3 separate regions of the Homo sapiens genome follow, and regions 2 and 3 are each linked to region 1. The links are contacts of gene promoters, found by promoter capture Hi-C in human tissues and cell types (Jung and others, 2019). All regions are on one chromosome and are shown on one strand. Each heading gives the region's core, a stretch centred on a gene start or on the middle of the fragment in contact. The rest is flanking DNA. Distances are from core to core; before and after follow the strand shown. Region 1 holds the start of ASZ1 (ankyrin repeat, SAM and basic leucine zipper domain containing 1). Region 2 has its middle 54 kb from the start of CTTNBP2. Region 3 overlaps CTTNBP2 (cortactin binding protein 2).

Evidence for each region. Contacts are between HindIII fragments. The study calls those that stand out against the background at their distance.
Region 2: a fragment that was not itself captured here is called in contact with the fragment with the promoter of ASZ1 in region 1 in 2 of the 25 tissues and cell types used here (dorsolateral prefrontal cortex and mesenchymal stem cells).
Region 3: a fragment that was not itself captured here is called in contact with the fragment with the promoter of ASZ1 in region 1 in 1 of the 25 tissues and cell types used here (mesenchymal stem cells).

Annotation. Positions count from the first base shown.
Region 1 is chr7:117,424,865-117,429,947 of GRCh38, forward strand. ASZ1 (ankyrin repeat, SAM and basic leucine zipper domain containing 1) reads right to left here and starts at 2,629. Exons shown (of 13, transcript NM_130768.3): 1 at 2,492-2,629; 2 at 1,972-2,071. The coding sequence starts at 2,596. The HindIII fragment of the contact is 3,572 bases long and covers 1,676-5,083 here.
Region 2 is chr7:117,925,008-117,930,090 of GRCh38, forward strand. No RefSeq gene overlaps it. Among named protein-coding and RNA genes, the nearest start is that of CTTNBP2, 54 kb to the left of the region's middle. The HindIII fragment of the contact is 4,374 bases long and covers 1-4,184 here.
Region 3 is chr7:117,736,337-117,741,419 of GRCh38, forward strand. All of the region lies in intron 14 of CTTNBP2 (cortactin binding protein 2), which reads right to left. Among named protein-coding and RNA genes, the nearest start is that of CFTR-AS2, 91 kb to the left of the region's middle. The HindIII fragment of the contact is 5,792 bases long and covers 1-4,799 here.

The DNA of each region.
Region 1 (5,083 bases), core at 1,379-3,878:
ATAAGAATAACAGGTAATGTTTACATAATTCCTATGTGTTCTAAGTCCTTTAAAAGCGTATTTTAATTCTCCCCCTTGCCAACAACCCTTTGATATAATAATCCTCATTTTAAAACGGGCAGAAATTGAAGCTTAGGAAGATTTGGTAACTTAGTCAAGGTTACAAAGCCATCAAGTGGCATGGTTAGTAATCAAACCCAGATCTGTCTTGTTTTCAAAATTATTTACTTTTCAGTAAACTATGCATTGATTCTAGCATAGAAGAAAAACATTATGCTATATATAATCACATCTAACTACCTTGTGTGTGAATGTTTTGTATCTACAATGGCAAAAACCACAATTATTTTTGCATCAAACTGAAGTAAATGCTTGTTATTCCTTTGAGTAATTTCTTTTTTTTTTTTTTTTTTTTTTTTGAGACGGAGTCTCGCTTTGTCGCCCAGGCTGGAGTGCAGTGGCGCGATCTCGGCTCACTGCAAGCTCCGCCTCCCGGGTTCACGCCATTCTCCTGCCTCAGCCTCCCGCGTAGCTGGGACTACAGGCGCCCGCCACCACGCCCAGCTAATTTTTTTTGTGTTTTTTAGTAGAGACGGGGTTTCACTGTGTTAGCCAGGATGGTCTCGATCTCCTGACCTCGTGATCCGCCCGCCTTGGACTCCCAAAGTGCTGGGATTACAGGCGTGAGCCACCGCGCCCGGCCAGTAATTTCAATCATTATAATCAATAATTTACATTTCTATGTGAAGGTAATTTAAAGTTTTTTTTTTATTTAATACACAAAAAATTCATGAAGCCCAGGACAGAATTATGATGCTTTACATAAAGAAACTGATGCTCTCTGGCTGGGGGCGGTGGCTCTTGCTTGTAATCTCAGCACTTTGGGAGGCCGAGGTGGGTGATTACTTGAGGTCAGTAGTTCAAGACCAGCCTGGCCGACATGGTGAAACCCCCGTGTCTACTAAAATTACCAAAATTAGCTGGGCTTGGTGACCGGTGCTTTTAGTCCCGGCTACTCCGGAGGCTGAGGTGGGAGAATCACTTGAATCCCGGCCCCCAGATGGAGGTTGCAGTGAGCGAAGATGGTGCCACTGCACTCCAGCAGGGCTAGAGAGAGACACTCCATCCCCTTCCTTCAACCCCCCAAAAATGAAATCTGATGCTCTCAAAGTTTTAATGCCTCTTCCAAGAAACCAGAGTGGGCAATAAACTGGAAGAAATTATCCATATATTTATTCTGATTCCTAGCTCAGGCCTCATTCCACCAGTACAAAACAAAAAACTGTAACGAGAAAGAACTAAAATGTAGAACCATTTCTTAAGAAACATACAACAGGCAGGGCACGGTGGCTCATGCCTGTAATCCCAGCACTTTGGGAGGCCGAGACAGGCGGATCACAAGGTCAGAGGATCGAGACTATCCTGGCTAACACGGTGAAACCCTCTCTCTATTAAAAATACAAAAAAAAAAAAAAATTAGCCGGGCGTGGTGTCACGCGCTTGTAGTCCCAGCTACTCAGGAGGGTGAGGCAGGAGAATCGCTTGAACCCGAAGGTGGAGATTGCAGTGAGCCAAGATCGCGCCACTGCACTCCAGCCTGGGCCACAGAGCAAGATAACATCTCAAAAAAAAAAAAAAAAAAAAAAGAAAAAGAAAAGAAAAAAGAAACAACATTACAGCAGAGTAAATGAAGAGAGAATTAAGAATGATCAGAGTGGGATAGGATTAGAGTAGGCCTCTTGCTTGAAGGAGGGGGAAGAACTGATGGAAGATAAACAGGGTGGCATTCCAAATGCAAGCAGAGAGGAAGAAAATAAGGCAGACTGGACTCAGTCAACGAAGATTATGCAGGATGATACATTAACATTTGTTGCGTTTCCATTAGAAAAGCAACATAAACCTTTTAAAAATAAAGAATCCTTGCGAACTTAAGACAGCTGTGTTCAGATGAAACTGTCCCTTATCTCTCACCAGAATCTAGGAGCTCCTGGACCAATGAAACATCTCCGATGGTCATTGCTTTCTTAAATTTTTCTTTCTTTTCTTCAATGGGTAATAGCCTTTTCAATTTCTAGAAAAGTAAACATTTTAAAAAATTCTTGTTATATATATTTTTGTTTCCACCTCATCAGGAAACAATAATGTTTGGTTAAGTACACAGGTTTTTTTTCTTGGCTTTATTTTGACTAAGATACAAAGTTTGAAAAGAATTCGTGTCGAAAATTATCTTTCAAGGGAATAGGTAATGATGGATCCAAACCCAACTGAGGAGTTACGATGACCTAAAGAAGCGTATTTGGTGGTAACCACAGTTGGGGAGGGAACACGAGGAAATTTGTGCGGGTTTGCTTAAGTACAAACTCCCGTATTTCCACTGGGTAAAAGGGAAATACACGTGAGGGAGTAGGAGGTTTCACGAGGCTGGGCCTCGCCTTCGAGGGCCAGGGGAGGCTGAAACCAGGTGTGGTCAAGACAAGGCCTCCTCCGCTACCTGAGACGTCCGGTCGAGATACCCAATCTCCCAGCCATCATCCTCGCTCTCGCTACTCTCGCCTCCGCCAGCCACTGGCAGGCCTCGCAGCGCGCTCGCCGCCATGCCAGCCAAGGAAGCTCCCTGTCGGCACCGCGCGCCCTTCAGCTCTCCGGGCGCATGCGCACCGGGGTGGGGCGTACGTAGAGATGCGCGGGAAGGAGCGCCGTGGAAGCGCTCCAGTCTGGAGCCCTCCAGCGCAGGCGCACAGCGGCGCGCTGCTCTCCTCCCTGCCCCGTCCCTCCCTAACCTTGAGGCTTCTTGAGGTGAAAACCTGGCGTGTCTGACACTGGTGACGAAGTTCGTGCGCCAGGCTTCTGCTGGCACTTCCAGTTCCTCTCAGGGACTTACCTTTCGACCTCTTTAAAGTATTTGCTTGATGAAATGATGAAATTCTTGCTCTGCAAGGAATGCCTTACTTGTGGCAGGAGCACACTAGGATTTAACGGCAAGTAAGACTAGACTTTCCCCGCCATCCTTTTCATCTGCCCCCTGCCAAACGTCTGTTAAATCTGTATCCCCTGGGAGACGGACTCTTCGTAGTAACACCTCTCTCAGGAGCACCACTCAGACATTCAAGAAGCCCTTACGCAAGTAGGAGCCGACGAAGGAGCCAGGAGAAAATACTGCCCCAAAGAATTCTTCCTTTACATTTCATGTGATCTTAGATCTCACCTTAGATTTAGAAGCTTCAGACCATCAAAACACTTCCCCGCTATGAAGTGTAGATGTCCTAGAGGAAAATATGAAAGGAGGGGGTTTCCGGGTACAGTGGATCCAAAGAGCCAGAAAGAAAGAAATGACTTAAACGTCCAGAGAGCAAATAATACAAACAACTCCAGGTGGAAGTGGCCCAAGCTCGAACTCACCTTTCTACATGGTTCTAGATGGTAGAACTTCTAGATGTTGGTAACACAGTGATTTTCTTTGCCACCACAGAAAAGTAGATCCACCAAGAAACAGGGCATATTATATGTATCTCAAGATAATAGCCATGCACTATTATTTGAAAGCTTTTGCGGTTTTTTTCTTGCAGATTCTCTGATAAAAGATTTTGAAATTATTTACTTTAGAGGCTCAGAGGTAAGTATTTTTAAGTAGTTTAGCTATTTGCGTGCCACATCTGTCTTTCTAAATGCATTCATTCAATAAATGCTAGGGATTACTTAGCACAGCCAAGTGCTACTAGGTTTGGGGAGACAACGTCAAAGATAAACCATGGAGCCTTATGGAGCTCACTTTAATAAGTAGAGATAGACAATATGCAAGGAAACAAAAACACTATTGCAGATTGTAAGTGCTTCAAAAGAAACAAGTGTGCTCTGTTTCTGGAATCAAACCACTTTTGTGTTTCCTGGGGGAATCACTAGCTGTAGCTGTGTGCCCTTAGGCAATTTACTTAGCATCTATCTGGGTACCAGCTAACTTATCTGTAGAATGGAGGTGATGATAGTACCCACCAAATAGAATTGTTATGAGGACTAAATGAAGTAATAGGCTTAGAATAAGGTCTTTCTCAATGTAAGAGGTAGATTTTAGATAGGATAGTCAGAACTGTGCAGAGTCGTAAATAACAAGCCATATAAGAGTGGGAGAATAGAGCTTTCCTGGCAGTGGACAGGAATAGTGCCAAGGTCCTAAGGCAAGAAAAAAGCAACTCAGGACCAGGATGGGGCAAGTGAGGCTGGGGCAAGTGAGTCCCCTAAGAAGCAAAGTTTAAGGAAGTACTGTCAGGGTCCTGCAAATTCAGTGAGTGCCTTTTTAAATTTTGCTCCTGGGTCACCTCACTTACCTTAGTTCTTGTCCTGCTTGGACCAGAAAGAAGGCCTGAGGCTACAGCTTCGTAAGGATAGGCGTGTGTGATGAGAGGTCCTTGTGGGCCTTAAGTAGGAATCTGGATTTTACTGAAAGCAATTGAACAGTGAAATGTTTTTAAGCTAATGAAAGACATGTTCTGATGTGTGTATGTATTTAAAGACACTCTAGGTCTATTGTAGAGAAGGTTTTTGGTTTGAGCAACTGGCTAAGTAGTCATTGCATTTACTGAGATGGGGGAAGACCAGTGGATAAACGTGAAGATTTAATAGGCATCCCCAAATTAACATATTCAAAACCAAGCAGCCAAGTGTAGCTGTTAAGTGGTTAGTTGGATATTCATGTGTGGACCTTGAGGAAGCCTGGTCTTGGAAATATAAATGTGGGAGTTATCCACATACAATTGGTTTTTAAAAACCTTAGGATTTACCAAGTGATTTTTTTTATAAATATGGATAAGATTATTCCAAATTGTATGTGGAAAGGCAAAGGAAGTAAAATAGTTAAAACAATTCTGAAAAAGAAGAATAAAGAAGGAAGAATTGCTCTCCTTGATTTCAAGACTCATGTGTAGCCTTGATTTCAGGATTTTTTGATATAGACCAATAGAACAGAATAGAAAACCTAGACATAGCACCACACAAGTACATATAGTATGACAAACTAATTTTTGATAAAGGTGCAAGAGCAATTCAATGGAGGAAGGATAGTCTTTTCAACAAATAGTTGTGAAGCAGG
Region 2 (5,083 bases), core at 748-3,247, 500 kb after region 1:
TATAAGACCATAGTCACCAAAACAGCATGGTACTGGTATAAAAATAGGCACATAGACCAATGGAACAGAATCGAGAACTCAGAAATAAACCCAACTACTTACAGCCAACTGATCTTCGACAAAGCAAATGAAAACAAAGTGGGGAAAGGCCACCTATTCAACAAATAGTGCTGGGATAATTGGCAAGCCATGTGTAGAAGAATGAAACCGGATCCTCATCTCTCACCTTATACAAAAATCTACTCAAGATGGATCAAGGATTTAAATCTAAAACCTGAAACTATAAAAATTCCAGAAGATAACATTGGAAAAACTCTTCTAGGCATTGCCCTAGGCAAGGATTTCATGACCAAGAACCCAAAAGCAAATTCAATAGAAACAAAGATAAATAGCTTGGACTTAATTAAACTGAAGAGCTTTTGCATGGCAAAAGGAACAGTCAGCAGAGTAAACAGACAACCCACAGAGCCAGAGAAAATCTTCACAATCTATACATCTGAAAAAGGACTAATATCCAGAATCTACAACAAACTCAAACAAATGAGCAAGAAAAAACAATTACATCAAAAATTGGGCTAAGGACAGGAATAGACAATTCTTAAAAGAAGATATACAAATGTCCAACAAACATATGAAAAAATGCTCAACATCACTAGTGATCAGGGAAATGCAAATCAAAACCACAATGCGATACCACTTTACTCCTGCAAGAATGGCCATAGTCAAAAAATAAAAAAATAATTGATGCTGGTGTGGATGCAGTGAAAAAGGAACACTTCTACACAGCTTGTGGGAATGTAAACTAATACAACCACTATGGAAAACAGTATGGAGATTCCTCACCTAAAAGTAGTACTGTCATTTGATCCAGTGATATCACTACTGGGTATCTACCCAGAGGAAAAGAAGTCATTATACAAAAAAGATAATTGCACATGTATGTTTATGGCAGCACATTTGCAATTGCAAAAATGTGGAACCAACCCAAATGCCCACCAATCAATGAGCAGATAAAGAAACTGTGGTATATATATCTGATATATATATATATATATATATTATATATATATATATATGATAGAATACTCCTCAGCCATAAAAAGGAATGAATTAATGGCATTCGCAGTGACCTAGATGAGACTGGACACTATTATTCTAAGTGAAGTATCTCTGATATGGAAAACCAAACATCGTATGTTCTCACTCATAAGTGGGAGCTAAGCCATGAGGATGCAAAGGTGTAAGAATGACACAATGAACCTTGGGGACTCAGGAGGGAAGGGTGGAAAAGGGGTGAGGGATAAAAGACTACAAATTAGGTGCAGTGTATAATGCTTGGGTGATGGGTGCACCAAAATCTCACAAATCACCACTAACTTACTCATGTAACCAAACTCCACCTACTCCCCAGTAACCCATGGGAAAAAAAATTAAAATTAGGATTAGGAGCCCGAGAAGCAGCCCCTACTGACACTATCTTTATCTTGCTAGGTAAGTAATTTACCTCTATTTGCAGACTTTCCTTTATGGAAATAAATAATCCAGTAGGTTAGTCACTTTGGGTTGGCTTGACTGTTATCTACCAAAAAGGTTTAATTTGCTCAGCGTCCTACATGATTTGGTCATCAAGGATGTTTGGGAGGATTTATGTATTGGGAGATATATTTGGTTGGGCTGTGACAGCAAACATGTAAATGTTCAACAAAATAGAAGTTTATATCTTGCTTACATCATAGTCCAGGAAGGCTGTAGTATTTACCACCTTCAACGCATGATTTCCAAGGTTGACCTGGTGATCTTCTCAAGTCCTGTTAACTAGAAGAGAGAAGAGCATGAGGAAGAATATGTGCAAAGTTTTCATGGGCTAGGATTGGAAGAGGGAGACATTGCTTCTTCTCATATGCCATTGAAGATAGTCAAAGGACCACAACTAAGTGTAAGGGAGACTAGAGGTATGCCTGAAGAAGGGAAGCAATTCTGGTGGACAGCCAGGCATCTTTGCCATAGGACTGACAACTTCTTAGCTGTGCATTTCCTGTTGGCAGTGACATAGAGGTTCAAAAATTGCCCTAAACAATGAGTTATGAGTTATCTTGTATCTCTTTCAGCCAGACTTGTTTTGTGTTTTGTTTATTTGTTTGGGAGTGATGATGGTGACAATGGAACTTCCTTAAAATCCCAGTGGTTTGCTTGTTTAGGAATTCCTTTTGCTAGTAACTGATGTCAGAGCAAGATGTTTGAATCTGGGCCTCTGCCCCTTCATGGTTTTGGTTTCTTGGTGACTCTTCAGTGGTGCTACCCATCGTTATGGGACTTGATTTGGTCTCTGTCTGCATGATGGCATTGGGGATGAGGCAAGGTTAAGGGACCCTCTGCCCCAGGTACTCCCAATATGCTTTATAATCTGGGGAAAGGAGAATGATGTTTGCCAGGGACAAGTGCTTTGGAAACATCTAGGGAATCTGGTTTCTCCATTCTGGTTGAACATTTACTGGAATTGGGTGCAGTGAGTTGTCTTTTGAAATCCAGAGCATGTCCAGTAGCAGAAAATGGCCTTTTGAGTAGAGCTGTGTCTTTCTCCTGCTCCACTTTTAGATGGCTCTGCTTGGTCCATTTGTTGTTGTTGCTATTGTTATTGTTGTTGTTGTTGCAACATCTTATTGAAGCCATACTTATTGTTGGCAAGAAGTAACCAATACTTCCAAATTCCTGTTTTCTTTCTACCAAGTCCCATAAAGTTCTAAACTCAGTGGGAATAGGCACAGGATCCGAATAACAATAAACAATGAACAATGATTAACTAATTGCTTTGCTACTGAGTTCTCTAATTCAGAGTGGAGGAAACCTGCTTGTCCTATTTACACCTGAACATAGACAATTCCACATTTTGGATCTGTCCCCAGCAATGCCTGTGGTCCTGTTACCAATTATGGCATCAATTAGGGCTCCGTTGGTTGCCAATGGCAGAAACCCCATCCAAAGTAGCTAAACAAATACAGAAACAGAAAAACAAAAAACACAAGTTCACCAGAGAGTAGTGCTGTTTCAATAGAAATAAAATTTGAGACTCATATGTAATATGAAAATTTCCAGAAGCCACATAAAAAAATAAAAAGTAATAGGTGGAATTAATCTTAAAATTTAGTTTATTTAAATAGTATATCAAAAATATAATCTCGATATATGTTCATTATAATAACTAGACATTTTACATCCTTTTTTCATACTGTCTTTAAAATCGAGTGATATTTTACGTATACAGAACAATTTAATTTGAACTAGTCATATTTCAAGTGCTCAGTAGCTGCTTGTAGCCATTGGCTACGATATTAAACAGCATAGTATTAAAGCATATTAGGGTGGCTCTTAGAACTGAAAGAATTCCTGAAGAACCACCCCTGCTTCTGTGAGATGGTTTCATTACTGTACACTTCTGATTTCTCACTGTGCCTGGGCACATGACTGCTAGCCTGTCTAGAATCACATTCTCAGCTTTATCAGAGAGGAGAGAGCTCTTCATCTTCCCAACAAGCTCTGCCTGTCTACTCCAGCTCCAGTTCAAAAAACTATTTGGAGAAAACTCTGACTGCCCATTTTCAGGTCAATCAGATGGCCCATTAATGAGGCGAGGTAACATAATTGGTCTAGTGTAGGACAGAGTGGGGTTCTGTGACTGACAGCTTAAAAAAAATCCTTATGACTAGAGTGGAGAATGAGGAGCTCTCCAAAAGAAGAAAGGTTTCTGTAACAAGAAGAGGAAAAGAGGTACTGGGAACTCTGAAACAATAAATGTATACATTCTCCTATGCCCAAGGAAGAATTACTGTACACTTGAATAAAATGTAAACAGGAATAAAATAAAACAGGAATAAAAGTACCTGTTTATGCAGGTACTATGACTATTGTTGGATGAACTGAAAACTCAGGTACAGACATTAGTATATGTGCTTGCTATGTAAATATTCAGTGAGCAAGCTTGGAATTTCTAGAAAATGAAAATGGCAGCTTCATTTAACAACTAACTCCTTAATAAGCATATTTCTCACACTTATTTTGGTTTTTTGGTTAAAAAATAATCAGGATGCATAATACATTGATTTGGTAGTTTAATATTAAATCATAAAATGTTGTCTTCCTGACTAGAAATGAATGTGTGGAATGTCGGAAGAAAAAAAAAGTCAGGGATCAATAGTATTTTTAAGATACAGTCATGGTGATTATTTTATAAAAATGAAAAGATAACAGAATCCCATAAAACCCTGATAAGCAACAGACCCTACTGTTTCCAGGACCTTGCCAATTACTGTCAGTTTGCAAAATCCTTCCTGTGAAGATAGACTGATGTATGAGTGTAACTGTGGATCTTTTTCTCAGATGAAGACACAGAGCAGAAGCTTCTCTGGCTGCTGTGGCAGGTGATCATTTAAGGTTAAGGATGATTACTGTTTATCTTAGTCTGCTGGGACCCATCAGTAGCTTTCAACACTATGAATATATATGATGCTAATGTTCCTCTTAAATGTTCTGGCTAATGTAAAGGAGACAGCTTTCTCCAGGGTAAATTCAGTCCTAACACACTGTAGCTGAAGATGTTCCTATGCTTGGCCTAAATTAGTACTGATTGCAGGATTATCTTGAGAATCAGTGGAGTTGAAAAAAATATCTTTTACAGTTTTGTGCTTTAGTTCTTCCTGTCCCTTCCATGTGGTGCTGGAAAGTCAAAAGACACGGCTGTCCACTACAATGCCCTCTTCATCACAAAATCAGCATTTTTCTAAGTTAAATGTGCTTCACAATCAGGTAGGTGCTTAAAAATGTATCTCAGATGGCGCCGCCACTGGAGACTTTCAGTATATTTGGGGTGAGACTTAGAGATATTGATGTTTTTATAAGCCCTGTAGGTAATTCTAATGTACACACCTTTAAACTCAAACTTGAGTTTAAGTTGTGTCACTGTCTCTAATTTTCCATTCTGATAATGTATGGAGGAATGAAATAAAAAAACATGAAATGACAGTTCCCTTCATATCAGCTCCTTCTCAAAAAATTTTAAATCCAGGGGTATCCAGGGAGGGGAGAGTCT
Region 3 (5,083 bases), core at 654-3,153, 310 kb after region 1:
TCTCAGCTACTTGGGAGGCTGAGGTGAGAGGATCACCTGAGCCCAGTGAGCTGTGACTGTGCCACTGCATTGCTGCCTGGGCAACAGAGCAAGACTGTGTCTAGAAAAAAAAAAAATGTAGACAGGACCTCAGAGAGATAAGTAAATCGCTCTTTCCATTTTCCAGATCTCAGAGAGGCTGAAGTAATTTGTGGTCTCAGAAACAATGGTAAGGGAGGAGTAAAATCCAGCACTTCCGACTCATATTTTCCCATTCGTTTCACTCAGGATGGGAAGGACTGACTTTCTGTCAACCCAAAATGAAAGCTGGAAAAGTAAATGAAAAATTAATATTATATATAGGAAATGAATAAGGGCACAAAACATACTTAAAACAGTACCTGGCATCTACTAAGCAGAAACTATTAATAGTTTAGTTAAAATGTATTCTATATGGCACTTCCCATATACTAATCAATTACAAAATAAAATCACTTTAGTTTCTTGAAGATTCTAAGATGCCACAGTTTTAGTCAAATTAACCTTGAAAAGAAACCAGTTTAGGATACTTGAGAGTAACATTACCAAATAGTCTACTTTTTACAAATATTCATGATAGTATATTCTCAATTCCTTCTTGTTACTATAGACACAATGCATTTTCATTTTCAAAAGAACTCCTTGAACACTGTAAATGAATCTCTTCTCAGACAGAAATGGCTCTTCTGGATGCTATGAAAATTTAAAATCTAGAAGGCTAGAAACAATCACAGCCACCTCTCAATCTAGTTGTACTTGTGGAGGGCTGCTAACACTAGCATCTAGTGTGTGTCAGATCCCTTTCAACACAGCTGTTTGGTAAAGAATGCTAAAATTCTATGTTTCTTTGGGTTCAAATGTTATTTCAGAAATAGATGTATTGTGGAAGTATGAGAAATCCGTAGTTGGTGAAAACAACAATGGAAAACTAACAAACATTTTTAATTCAGCGATTAAAAAAACACACAGGATTGATGGTTTATGTATCTGGTTTTCTGTAACTGAGGACTGAAGGTCTCCAGCTTTTCCCTGATTTGTGTTAAGTGCATCGCCAGTTTAAGTGGCTCTGAAGCTGCTGCAGCCAGCCAGAATGCATCTGAAGGAAGGAATATTTCCTTGCATTTCAACAAATGTTTATCCAATGCCTCTTTGCTACAGGTACTGGATGCTGAGTGCTATGGCATGCCAGAAGTGACTCATTCTAACTGGGGGTGTGTAGCATTTTATTTATTTTTTGGAGATGGAGTCTTGCTCTGTTGCCCAGGCTGGAGTGCAGTGGCGTGATCTCGGCTCACTGCAACCTCCACCTCCCGGGTTCAAGTGATTTTCCCGCCTCAGCCTCCTGAGTAGCTGGGATTACAGGTGCACACCACCATGCCAAATACAAAATTTTTTTTTGTATTTTTAATAGAGATGGGAGTAACCATGTTGGTCAGGCTGGTCTCAAAGTCCTGACTTCGTGATCCACCCACCTCACCCTCCCAAAGTGCTGGGATTACAGGTGTGAGCCACTGCACCTGGCCAGCATTTTAAACTAAGTTTAAGAAATGGCACTGGCCGAAGAATGGAGCTGGGCAGGATTCAATTCTAGAAGGGAATACGGCGTCAGATCAAGGTCAGAATAGTTATAAAAGCGTCATCATGGTGAGCTAAAAGCTGATCCATATAGCAAGTCGGGCCAGGGCTGGGAACTTGGGGTGGTGCCACAGGAGTGGCAGGGCGCCCAGCAGTCACAGCTGCGGAAGGCAGGCTGCATCTTCATCCTGAGCTGCAGGAATCGCTGGACCCATCCCCAGTGATTCTCAGCGCTTCTGATTTAATTGCACTGTGCTGGGCCTGGGGCACTGGCATTTTGTAAAAGCTCCCTAGTGATTGGAATGTGCAATCAGGGGCGAGATTTGCTGATATGAAGCCTCAGGACCAAGCCAAAAATGAAAAGTAGAAGACTCAGAATGTCTTGTTGGGAGGGAGCTACTGGTTCTGGGAATCAGTGGAAGTCTTTAAATAGGGGGATAAACAGGATTTGACTCCTGCTCTGAGATCTTCATGGTGCAGAGAATTGGCTGAGGAGGAAAGAAATAGGAGAACACACCTCCTAGACTCTTACTGCTATGGTTAAGGAAAGAGATGATGGGAGCCTCACCCAGGACCAACGCACAGAATGAAAAGGCATTTTGAGACCGAATCAGTAAATCTCAGTGGCTGACTTATTGAAAGAGGGGCAGAGAGGAAATACTGGAGACAACTCTAGGTTTCCACCAGAGAAGAGGCTGAGCAGTTAATGGAGGCAGAGAGCAGATGTGACCAAGCATGTACTTGGGGAGGAGGTGGTGGTGATGGGTTATGTTTCAGGCTTGATGTGTTTGATGAGTGAAGCATTGCTTCTCTGATGTGCAGCAGGTGGTGGGGCATGAGGGTGAGGGCATTGAGGAAGGATCCAGGCTGGAGATAAAATAAATGAGTTTTCAGGCATGCTGGGGTCTCTTGGAAAGAGGCAATATGCTCATTCTCCTGGGTCCTCAAGCAAATACTATATTGCTAGTGACCTAATACATCTCACATTCAATGGACAGTTTGTGCCCTAGACAAAAAGGGGGAAGGGCTGCTATACATAACCATTGGGTTATCTTTCCACTTCATCTTTATCTTGGTCTCCCATGAAGTAGCAATCAAGGGTCAAACAGCACAGCTTTCTTTGGGGGAAAGCTTTGTCTTCATTCGCTTGCCTCATTGCCTCAGTTTTTCATTAGTACCTACTTTTCCATCTGACCACTTAAGTTCCACATCCTTAGTCAAGGTGGGGCAAAGGTTAATTTTATTTTAGTTGAGAAATAGTACGTGTCTAGTTCAGGTTATTCTGCGTAGTTTCAGGTCTAAAATATTAACCAGCCACAGAAGCAGGAACTCATTACAGTTTCAAGGATCAACCAGTCTCTGATCAGGGCTTATGGAGAGGTGAAAGAAGGCCACACACCCCATGTTACAGCTGCAGGTTCCTTTTTACCTTCGGCCAAAAAGTCAGCCATTTGAATTCCCTTTGCTCTGTGCCACTTCAAAACGCTATTTCTAAAACCAGTCTGCTCTTTTTGACCTTTTTCTTCCAACTTTATAGGCTCTCTCAGCCCTGCTCCTCTCCTGCAGGTTGGTAATTTTAACTGGACACTGTCTTTGTGAGGCTCAGGGCTACATCCCAGTTTTGCACATCCTTATATTAAAAGTCCCAGAGAGTGAATTCTGCAGCCAAACTTATCAGTTTAAAAATAATTAGCATATCGCATTTCTAGCTAAACCCAAACTGCTTTGTGTCGTAGGTGAGTGACTCCAAGTCTATTATCTCCCCTTTCAGGACAGAAAACAACCCCTCTTTTCCATGTGCCCTTAAACCCCGGCTCTGGAGGAACGATGTTCTGAGAGGCCAAGTGGGAAGCACAGGGCAAGCCTTTAAAGAGTCCCAGGAATGCAGGGCCCAAGGAGGTAAACTCATTTCTGGAGACTCCAATTGTCATAGTCTCCTATTGTAACAGCAACCCTATCCTCATTACTTTTACAAAGGAAAGTTCCCTTGAAAAATTCAAAGTATTACTTTAAAATACCCATCTAGTGTTTAATTTTTTTTTCTGTTTTACTGTTTACAGTCACTGTAATTTTAAAAAGTATCATCTTGCTAACCCAAGTCCATACTTTATACTGAGGAGAAATTTGACCTAATTCTAATATGCATTCACAGCCTCCTTACCAAATAACAGAGTCATATGACATGACCCTCTCTCAAGAAAGGGAATATGAGAAGAAAATGTTATTTTAAAATAAACACAAAGTAATTTATGCTAGAATAAGTGCTGTGTCATTTTCTTTGAAATGGTCTTTTGTTCTCTATTCTTTTCTTCATTGGCACCATTTTAATCTCCATTTAAGTTTTAGATTCTTAAACCTAATTATTTAAAATACTTTTGCTACTCTTCATTTCTGTCTTTTTGCTCACACCCTCTTTAACTCTTTTCTGTGCCTGTTCCCTGGCTTTCTTCTACGGCGTCATAGAGAGGAACACATAAGGCAATGTGTGCTGTGCTCAGTGGAAGACAGAAGTTCAGCATTCTCACCCCATTCAACCCACATAGTTTAAGGCTCTCTCTTTAGAGAAAATAAGGTTAACCATCAGGAGTACGTGTAGAATACCTCAGGAATCAGTGTACTCTTCAGTTGTGGTACTTACTATTTGATCACTTTAATTTCTTGGTAAAAAAAGAGAGTAGCTGGTAGATAATCCCTATATGCTCATTATTCTAAACGTTTGAGTGGAATAGCCTAGAAAACCCCTTTCCTCCATCCAGATCTCTGACTTCTCTACCCTGTGGCCTCATCCATCGCCTCTTGACTGAAGGATCATTCCCTGCTGCATGCTTTCTGCACAGTGAAAGAACTGACACCACACCTGTCGATGGATCCTTCCCTGTGGCTCATAGGAGTTCCCCTGCACTGCTCTGAAGTCTCTGGTGTCCTTGTTGATTCTAATTCTCCTCTATGTCTTCATCAGCCTCCAGCCCACAGCATGGGTCCTACTGAGAAGACGGCAGTGGAGGTAGAGTGGGTTTTAGGAGATGAGGGTGAACTGCAGCAGGACAAGGATGAGAGGCCAGTCCACAATGTTCCTGATGTAGATTCTGAGAGCTTTAGCTTTCATTCTGGAGCCTTGGGAGTATAACAGCAGGGAACTGTCTGAATGGTTTTTTATCCTCCAGTGAGCCCCCAGATGCCTTGTGGAGGGCCCATGGAGGGAGTGAGACCAGAGGAAATATGAAAGGTTAATGATGAGGCCTCTACAATGCCTTGAACAAGAAATAATAGGTGATGGGGGAATGGAGAGCAGGAGGAGGAGATAGAGGAAGCAGATTCCACAGAGCTTAGGGACTGCCTAGATATGGGGAGTGAGGCAGACAGGAAGTGATTATGCTCACCTTGCTAACTTGGGCAACTGCAGTCAAGGCCTTAGCAGATGAACCTTGTATTTGTATCATAGTTTTCTTATTAAAAAGTGAAGAAAGATATTGATACTTACAAGTTACTA